Linked DNA regions of Homo sapiens: all the other regions are linked to region 1. Evidence: promoter capture Hi-C in human tissues and cell types (Jung and others, 2019). All regions are on one chromosome and are shown on one strand. Each heading gives the region's core, a stretch centred on a gene start or on the middle of the fragment in contact. The rest is flanking DNA. Distances are from core to core; before and after follow the strand shown. Region 1 holds the start of CCDC62 (coiled-coil domain containing 62). Region 2 overlaps CLIP1 (CAP-Gly domain containing linker protein 1). Region 3 overlaps PITPNM2 (phosphatidylinositol transfer protein membrane associated 2).

What was found. Contacts are between HindIII fragments. The study calls those that stand out against the background at their distance.
Region 2: a contact is called between a fragment that was not itself captured here and the fragment with the promoter of CCDC62 in region 1, in 2 of the 25 tissues and cell types used here (lymphoblastoid cells and stomach).
Region 3: a contact is called between a fragment that was not itself captured here and the fragment with the promoter of CCDC62 in region 1, in 1 of the 25 tissues and cell types used here (bladder).

The regions. Positions count from the first base shown.
Region 1 is chr12:122,772,862-122,776,099 of GRCh38, forward strand. CCDC62 (coiled-coil domain containing 62) reads left to right here and starts at 1,711. Exons shown (of 13, transcript NM_201435.5): 1 at 1,711-1,845. The coding sequence starts at 1,810. RefSeq lists silencers at 1,549-1,758, 2,281-2,575 and enhancers at 1,858-2,551, 1,939-2,078. The HindIII fragment of the contact is 10,219 bases long and covers 1-3,238 here.
Region 2 is chr12:122,323,713-122,326,950 of GRCh38, forward strand. The region is part of intron 17 of CLIP1 (CAP-Gly domain containing linker protein 1); the gene reads right to left. It also overlaps the pseudogene CCDC150P1. Among named protein-coding and RNA genes, the nearest start is that of VPS33A, 59 kb to the left of the region's middle. The HindIII fragment of the contact is 8,257 bases long and covers 1-3,238 here.
Region 3 is chr12:123,108,395-123,111,632 of GRCh38, forward strand. It overlaps PITPNM2 (phosphatidylinositol transfer protein membrane associated 2), which reads right to left. Exons shown (of 26, transcript NM_020845.3): 2 at 1,991-2,094. Among named protein-coding and RNA genes, the nearest start is that of PITPNM2-AS1, 29 kb to the left of the region's middle. The HindIII fragment of the contact is 5,617 bases long and covers 1-3,238 here.

The DNA.
Region 1 (3,238 bases), core at 461-2,960:
GTGCGCACCACCACACGTGGCTAGTTTTTGTTTGTTTGTTTGTTTGTTTGATTTTTAGTAGAGACAGGGTTTCGTTGTATTGGCTAGGCTGGTCTCAAACTTCTAATCTCATGATCCATCCTCCTCGGCCTCTCAAAGTGCTGGGATTACAGGCGTGAGCCACCACGTCTGGCCTGATTTTTGTTTTTTTGAGTCAAGGTCTCACTCTCGATCGGACTGGAATGCAGTGGCATGATCACAGCTCATTGGAGCCGCCATCTCCCAGCTCAAGTCAGCCTCGTGAGTAGCTGAGACCACAGGAGTGCACCACCACGCCCAGTTTAAAAAAAAATTTATTTTTTGGCCAGGTGCGGTAGCTCACACCTGTAATCCCAGCACTTTGGGAGGCTGAAGTGGGTGGGTCAACTGAGGTCAGGAGTTCGCGACCAGCCTGGCCAAGGTAGTGAAACCCATCTCTACTAAAAATACAACAAAGGTGGCGTGGTGGCGGGCACCTGTAATCCCAGCTACTCGGGAGGCTGAGGCAGGAGATTTGCTTGAGGCCAGAGGCAGAGTTTGCAGTGAGCCGAGATTGTGCCATTGCACTCCAGCTCAGGCAACAAGAGCCAGACTCCATCTCAAAAAAAAAAAAAAAAAAAGTTTTTTAGAGGTGGGTGTCACCATGTTGCTCAGGCTGGTCTCAAACTCCTGAACGCAACAGATCCTCCTACATTGGCCTCCCAAAGTGCTGGGGTTACAGGCCACTGCGCCCAGCTTTCTTGATTTTAAATTCTAAGACATTGCTTTGGTCTCCCAAACATGAGCCTATCAGTAAAGCTTCAAAATAAGAAATCTTAATTTTGTTTTTCCATTTTCAGATTGTATTTTTTGAACACAAGGGCATGTTTTGGCATTTCATATTCAACCAAAAAGTAAAGTTGAAACCCTGTAAGACCGACCGTATTTAGTAATTGTGTTGCTGTCTGATGGGTTAAGCATTCAGGGATGGGCAGCCGGGGCTGAAGTGTGATAAGCCTTATTTTTTCCTAGTCCCGTTCCCACATCTTAGGAAGAGTGAAAGGGGGATGAAGAGGTGACTATGGAAGAACAGGTGAAAAAGCTTAGATTCAACCCAGAATATCGTAGATTTTGTCATGACAAAGTACCGTGGTTCTCCTCATTGCTTTTCAGGAGCTCCCAAGAGTAAATTTCCCCCTCTTCATCTGTGATTCTTGGTTTAAAGTATCAAAGGTGCTAGGGTAGCCCGCAACTGTTATCCCCGAGGGCTGGGCTCTGCCTCCACGCATTCGAGTGTCAGGTCCTGTTCTGGGAGCCAGCTACACAGGAGCGAGCACGGCCGAGCTCACGGTTATTAGGGGGAAGATGGAAGATAGGGAAGTGAGCAACTCAAATGTCATAAACCAGAGTGCTGGGGGCGGCGCAGCAGCCTTTATTGACTTCTTCATTCTCTGGGTAGTGGTGAACAGCCGGTTCTTTCAGGCCTTCCAGCGCCGGAGCCTCGGGCGTGGGCAAAAAGCGTCCATACGCAGCCTGAGCCACTTGGGAGCCCCCAGTTTCCGAGGCAGAAGAACAGTGCCCACCAGCGCAGCGGGGCTGCGGCCCGGAAACCCTGGCGGGGAGCCCCGAGCCCCGGCGGGCGCACGCCGCGTGGGCACCAGGCAGGCGGTTGGAGTACGGGGCGGGGGTCGGCCGAGGGCGCGGGGCCCCGGGGCTCCGGGCTCGCCCCCGCCGCTCGGGGCAGGCGCGCCGATGGCGTTTCTGAGGTGACGCCGCCCACACCGGGCTTCTCCGGGGGCGGAGGAAACACCTATGAACCCTCCGGCAGCCTTCCTTGCCGGGCGCCAGGTAAGCAGCGGTTCCGGGCGCGGCGGGGCGCCGCGGGAACGGTGCACATTGGTCGAAATCTATTGCTTCTCAAGAACGGTGTCTACTTAAAATGTGAAACAGGCCGGGCGCGGTGGCTCACGCCTGTAATCCCAGCGCTTTGGGAGGCGGAGGCGGGCGGATCACGAGGTCAGGAGATCGAGACCATCCTGGCTAACACAGTGAAACCCCGTCTCTACTAAAAATAAAAAAAAAAAAATTAGCCGGGCGTGGCGGCGGGCGCCTGTAATCCCAGCTACTCGGGAGGCTGAGGCAGGAGAATGGCGTGAACCCGGGAGGCAGAGCTTGCAGTGAGCCGAGATCGCGCCACTGCACTCCAGCCTGGGCGACAGAGCGAGACTCCGTCTCAAAAAAAAAAAAAAAAAAAAAAAGTGAAACAATACACTAGAGGAAAACGGCGTCACGACCGTTTCCTTAACCCAATAACACCTTGTTATTCAGCCCGGGCCACAGAGTAGCGCGTACCCGGTGCTTACTGTTTAAGGAGGACGATTGGCGTCTGGGGAGCTGCTTTCCCATTTACCTCTCAGGGTGTCCTTAATTTACACAACCTGGCGAGTAGAGGAAGGAGCTCTCACAACTCCACTGTACCAAAAAGTCTGGAAGTGGGCTTGCCCAAGGTTCGCGTCCATCAGTGTAAGACGACCTGCCTTTGTGTACTCGGCTTACTGCCTGTTTTCCTGGAGTGGAATATGTGCTCCTTGCCTGGAGGTCTGTGGCCCAGCCACTGGCGCTCAATAAATTATTTGTTGAGTGCATGAATGAAGGGCTAACCCAACACTGGAATTCAAGCCTTGGGACTTGAAATCCCTTGACTCCAAATTCCATTTTCCTTGTTAAGACTAGCAACTGTAATTTATTCATCATTCTTATTTATTTATTTTTGAGACAGGGTCTGGCTCTGTCCCCAGGGCTGGAGTACAGTGACGCAATGTCGGCTTACTGCAGCCTCTGCTTCCCGAGTTCAAGCAATCCTCCCGCCTCAGCCTCCCAAATAGCTGGGACTACAGGCTCCCACCACCATGCCGAGCTAATTTTTGTGTTTTTAGTAGAGACAGGGTTTCGCCATGTTGGCCAGGCTGGTCTCGAACTCCCGACCTCAGGTGATCTGCCCACCTCGGCCTTCCAAAGTGCTGGGATTACAGGCGTGAGCCACTGAGCCCAACCTCATTATTCTTGTTTATTTACAAATCTTACTTTTCAAAAAGCAGTAAGGAGGTACAAAGGGCCTCTGTTGAACCTTTAATTACTGTCTTTAAGGTGGAACTCTATTAAAGTAACACTTTTAGTTGTTTATTTCATAGGCAGGGACAGCACCATGATTTGAAATGTGGTTTACAGTGTTAATGAGAGC
Region 2 (3,238 bases), core at 373-2,872, 450 kb before region 1:
GAGATTGGACAATTTCTCTAAAGCTGACTTTTTCTCAGCTGTGAGATCTTCAGTCTCCTGTACCAAAGCTTTCTGATCTTTGACTAGCTCCTCATAAGACCTTTGAAGCTTCTGAATGATGTCATCCTTATCTTTGGCCAAGATGAAGTTTTCGGTAATAAGTTTCTTGATCTGGTCCTCCAGGTGATCTTTTTCTTCCTGGTCCTTCTCAGTCTTAGCAATCAAAGTATCTTTGCTGAGCTGGAGCTCTTCAATGAGTGCCTGCATGCTCACCTTGGAAGCTTGCAAAGAGTCATTTTCCACATTTATCTTCAAGAGTTCTTCCTGTACAACATTGATTTCTTTAAGCAATTTCTCTCTCTCAACAGCCAAAGCTTCTTTATTGAGATGTTCCTGCTCATAATACTTTTCGGCATCTTGCTTTTCTTCTAAGAATTTCTCCTTTTCTAAATTAAGAGTTTCATTCACTGACCACAGTTTCTGCTGGTCTCCCTGAAGTAAAGCTATTTTGGCCTCCAATTCTACAAGCTTGGATAAAAGTGAACCGTTTTCTAACTTTAAATCATTTCCCTCCTGAGAAAGAAGCTGCTTCTCTGATTTCAGACCCCTCAGCTCTTCTGACATTAGTTCAATTTCTTTTTTGGCTGATGTTAACAAATAAGTTAGCGACTACAGAAACAAAAGATGGAAAGAATGGAAACAAAAATGAAATCAAGCAGACAAATGCAAGCCCAAATAACTTAATGTAACCTAAATGATAAAAACTTTACAATTTCTACAATAAACTTTATAGAAACTATCTGAATAACAAGGGAAAGAAACTAAACAGAGCCCATAAAAAGGTAAGTCAAAAGTGTAGTTTTGCAAAGTGCTTCTGTATCTGTTAGCTTATTTTATCTTTGAAACAACTTGTGAAATTATTCCCAGTAGCTACCTAGAAGATAAAAATAGTAGCTTGATTTTAATATCAGGGCATAAGATTCTTTCCTGCCATTCCAATTATCAAATTACTTTGAAAGCAGAAAGGATTCATAGAACAATTTTTAAAAATACAATTAAAAGAAGTACAAAAACTCAGTATATTTTAATGAAAAAAGGAAGGGGCATAACAAGGGAAAATAAACTACTGCCTTCCAAACTCACCACAGGACCTTACTTAAGGGTAGCTGAGGGGCTGAGAGTGATTTAGTCCCAATATCACATATAACTTAAAAACTACAGCCTAATTTCTAGGCTTTGCTGACTAAAAGGAATAGTTTTTTTTTTTTATTTACTGAATTATAAGATAATTTGACCACAGTGTCTATACCAGTGCTATCCAGAACTTTCTGCAATGATATAATTTTTTTTTTTTTTTTTTGAGACTGAGTCTCGCTCTATCTATTGCCCAGGCTGGAGTGCAATGGTGCGATCTTGGCTCACTGCAACCTCCGCCTCTGGGTTCAAGCTATTCTCATGCCTCAGCCTCCCAAGTAGCTGGGATTACAAGGCTCCGCCACCGTGCCCGGCTAATTTTTGTATTTTTAGTAGAGACGGGGTTTCACCATGTTGGCCAGGCTGGTCTCAAACTCCTGACCCCAAGTGATCCACCCACCTAGGCCTCCCGAAGTGCTGGGATTACAGGCATGAGCCACCACGCCCAGCTGATATAAATGTTCTTATTTGCACTCCCATCATGGTGACCATATGACTACTGAGCACCTGAAATGTGGTGAGTGCAACTGAGGAGCTAAATTTTTAATTAAAATGTAACAAATTTAAATTTATTTATTTATTTATTTATTTTGGAGGCAGAGTCTCACTCTGTGGCCCAGGCTGGAGGGAAGTGGCGCGATCTCGGCTCACTGCAACCTCTGCCTCCCAGTTTCAAGCGATCCTCTTTTAAGCATATACAAAAATAGAGAAAATAATGTAGACCGCATATATTCCCATATTAAGGTTTTTATTTTTATTTATTTTTTGAGACAGTCTCACTCTGTCACCCAGGCCAGAGTGCAGTGGCACCATCTCAGCTCACTGCAGCCTCCGCCTCCCAGGCTCAAAGGATTCTCCTGCCTCAGCCTCCTGAGTAGCTGGGACTACAGGTGTGTGCCACCACACCCAATTAATTTTTTGTATTTGTAGTAGAGACGGTCTCACGATGTTGTCCAGGGTGGTCTCAAACTCCTGTGCTCAGGCAATCTGCCCACCTTGGCCTCCCAAAGTGCTAGGATTACAGGCGTGAGCCACCAGAACTGGCTACAAATTTACATTTGAATGGCCTCACATGGCTGGTGGCTACTACATTAGGCAGCACAGCTATAGCCCACTGGCTCTTAAAAGTAGGGAATAGGAGGCTTCATGGGTTCCAGGAACCTTGTTGAGTGCACACGTAAACTTTCCTGAAAAAATATCTGTAGATTTCATTAGATTATTCCAAAGAGTCTGGGACTGATTACGATCCACTGAAATTAGATACTAGACACGTTTGGAGGGGAACAGTCCTGGCATTTTTAACTCAATGACTCTTGCACAAAACCAACCAACAAAATCAGTGAGACTGGCCAGGAATGGTGGCTCATGCCTGCAATCCCAGCACCTTGTGAGACTGGCCAGGAATGGTGGCTCACGCCTGCAACCCCAGCGCCTTGTGAGACTGGCCAGGAATGGTGGCTCACGCCTGCAACCCCAGCGCCTTGTGAGACTGGCCAGGAACGATGAATCACGCCTGCAATCCCAGCACCTTGGGAAGCTGAAGCAGGTGGATCGCTTGCATCCAGGGGTTCGAGACCAGCCTGAGCAACATAGCGAGACTCTGTCTCTACAAAAAATAAAAAATTAGCCAGGTGTAGTGGCACGTGCTTTTAGTCTCAGCTACTTGGGAAGCTGAGGCAAGGGGATCACTTGAGCCCGAGAGGTTGAGGCTGCAGTGAGCCATGACTGTGCCGCTGCACTCAGCCTGGGTGACAGAGTGAGACCTTGTCTCAAAAAAACAAACAACAACCGAGGAGACCTTACATCAGCTTCTGCGATGCTGTGGTTTGCTCAGGCTGAAACATTTTAAAGGAAATACAAAAAAAAAACTGAAGTCTGCACAGATAAAGGAAACCACAAAGACAAAAGATCTGGGAATTGTATCTAGTGTTAAATGGCTCATAAAACTGGAGGTATTTCACAGAAAGAAGAGAAATCCTCAACTATCAGCATGTAGAAGAGGGAGAATATGGGCCTCCCAGATGACATGCACGGCACACACATA
Region 3 (3,238 bases), core at 319-2,818, 340 kb after region 1:
GCTGTGTTGAAGCAGCGTCCCTCAGAGCAATGTCAGTGCTCAGGCCATGCAGGGCAGAAGAGCTCTCACCGGGCCCTGCCTCGACTTGGCAGCCAAGACCTTTGGCAACAGGACAACCACGAGGCCCCAACCCCGCAGAACCCGAGTGACCCCTGGAGAAGCTGCAAGTCAGGGCTGAGTGTTACTATGTGCCCTCCCCTACATCCACTCCCAGTAGCTGGGACACCTTGGAAAGTGAATTAAAACAAAACAGAAAAACAAAAAATACAACATAGCACTCTCTCTTCTTAGCACTTGGAGGCCTTTTCACAGCAACTGAAAAGAATGAGCAATTAGAGAAGATAACAGTCCACGGTGCCAGCCTGGAACTACGGAGCCACAGAGGCAACTTAAGAGGCCCCATCACAACGTGCCCTATCTTCCCAGCAAGGATGAGGGCACCCGGAGAAGGGAAGGGACTTACCCGAGATCAGACAGCAAGTAACAGTTGAGCCTGGGCTGAACCAAGGGCCCTGTGAGTCACAGGCCAAATTTGAAAAACCATGCCATGTGCTTCCAGGTCTAGACTCGGGGTCCAATCCCAATCCCACCACTGACTAGCTGTGCAACCTGGAGCTGATATCTGCCATCTCTGAGCCTCGGCTTCCTGTGTAAAAAGGGACCCTAACAGGCACTGCTCATGGTTACTGTGGGACTTAGCCCCATGCAGCAGGGGCTGGGTACATTAAACCTACCCCCACCAGCATCCTCACCTCAGCTTTGCTAGCTTCCCTTGATGGAACATCCATCCTCCGTGCCTCCAAAGCTGAAACTAGCCAATGAGTGAACAGGAGAAGGGTTCATCAACATTTAGGAAAAAAAGAAGGAAAAATCACTTTACCTCCTGTTCCACCCAACAAAGGCCTTGGCATGGAAAATGGGGCCAAGGCCAGGGATTGTGCCTGAGACAAAGAAATACGAAATGGAAAGAAGCTTGGGAGGCCAGGGGCTCCTGCTGCCAGCTGGGGGTGGGAGGGGAGAGACTGCTACTCCCTGGGCCATTCAATCTCTAGACCTGGCACTCCCTGAGACTCAAGACAGAGGCTCAGGCCCACCCTCCACTCAGCCTTGGCTTCTCACTGTACATCCAGAGGGATGGTGCATTAAAAACCACACTCATGCTTGTTTCTGGGCCACTGACCATGACTTGCGGGCAGCTGAGCAAGGCAGCAGCCCAGCCTCTGCTCTCTGCCAAAGCCAGCGAGTAGCCAGAGCCTGAGCTTCCCAGCCAAGGCACAGAAGAAGCATAACTCCTGCCTGTCCTCTTCCATGTACTAAGGGTAGAGCAGGCCAGGCTAAGCCTCAAGAGCAAACAGAAAAGAGCCACTCTGGGGTGCTCTATAAACAGGAGAATAGCAGCCGTTGGGGCCTCAAAGGCTGACCCAAGCAGTTTTTATCCTATTTGGAATCGAAAGCTACCAGAGGCAGAACATCGGTCTTTCGTATTTAGTGAAAAGAAGTCAATATTTGCAAAAGCGTAATCAATAAATACAATCTACCCCACATTAATCAGATAAAGTCAGGTTTATAGTGTCTTTTTAAGAGACGGGGTCTCACTGTGTTACTCAGGCTGGAGTGAAGTAGTGCGACCATGGCTTACTGCAGCCTCGAACTCCTGGGCTCAAGTGATCGTCCTACATCAGCCTCCCCAGTAGCTGGGACTATAGGCATGTGGCACCTCACCCAGTTAATTTTTTTTTTCAGAGATATGCAGTCTCACTATGTTGCCGAGGCTGTCTTGAAATCCTGGCCTCCAGTGATCCTCCTGCCTTAGCCTCCCAAAGTGCTGGGATTACAGGTGTGAGCCACTGCGCCCAACAATAGTCCGGTTTTTAGGGGAAAAGGGAAACAGCAATAAAGTCTCCGTACCCTCAAACTCCAAAGGCCAGGGTGGCCTGCAGGGCCTCAGCTCTGGGAAGTAGGGTGCTACTGCACAGGTGGACGGCCTTACCTGTGGGTCTGAGAAGGCTCCACTGATGTCCCTGTCAAAGGAGGAGAAATGGGTCCCTAGGCTCACAGAAGGTTGTTGAGGACCAGGACACACGTGCCAGCATCCTGCAGGGAGAAGCACAATGGGAGAGGAGGTGAGACACCTGGACTCTGATCACTCCACACCAATCCAACTGGGAGACCCACAATGCCGATGGACCAAGAGGATTGAACAGGGGACATCTGACTAAAGGTGTCTCCATTTTACAAAGGGACCCAGCCCAGGACGATTCAGGAAGCAAGTGTCTAACTCAGAATTGGTGACAGATACACCCCAACATTGCCCGGCACCCCTTCTACTTAGGAAAACTGCTCAGGGAGTGGGAACTGAGACCACCAGCACACACCATAAGCCATCCTATTTTCAAAGGCCCCTGGAGCTCTGTCTCAAACCTTGATTTTTCACTCATGAACCCCACTGGGATTGGAGGACTTCAGACCGCAGAGAGGAGGCTGGAAAATGAGGTAATGCAGGAAGAAGAGTGGGAGACACAGTCCGAGAGGATGGCGTCCTGATGCCGGGACAGGGGCATGGTCATATTGTGGGGTGATGCAAATGGCTTCCAGCCTTCCAGCAAGCCCCTCCAGCTGGGCAGAGTGTGATCTGACTACCCAGAGGCCAGAGACAAGCATTCAAAACAAAATGAAAAAGGTGGAGAAATGGATTTCCAAAGAGTCGCAGGTCCAACAGCCTCAGAGATGACAAAGTCTTCACAGGTACCACTGAAGCCACTACCCAACCCAGGGCTCCTACAGGGACCACAGACAAGCCGGGTAGCCCACCTCGCAGCTCAACACACATTCTTGTTTGCCTGACACACATACAAGCCTCCTGACCCTGGGCCCAGAGAGCAGGTAGCAGCCTACAGGGCTCTCCAATGACCATGACAGAGAGGCTGCTTATCTGCTGGCTATGGAAGCTGGGAGTGTTTCAGGAACTGATGCCCAATTCCAGGGCAACCCTGCTTTAGGAGCTGAGGACAGGCATGGTGGGGGTCTCCTCAGACACCAGTCCATGCCCGCTAGGGGCAAGCACAGCCCTAACAAAGGGAAATGGAATGGTGGCTGGGGATGGCAAAGTTATCAACTGCCAAGTGAACGGCCAGACAGAGGAGGGAGAGTGGAATTGGGGAGGTGTGAAGATAGCTAGCAATACACAGCAGTGGGAGGTGTGGCTGCAGGGAGCGGGCGGCTCTTCCAACCCCGCCAC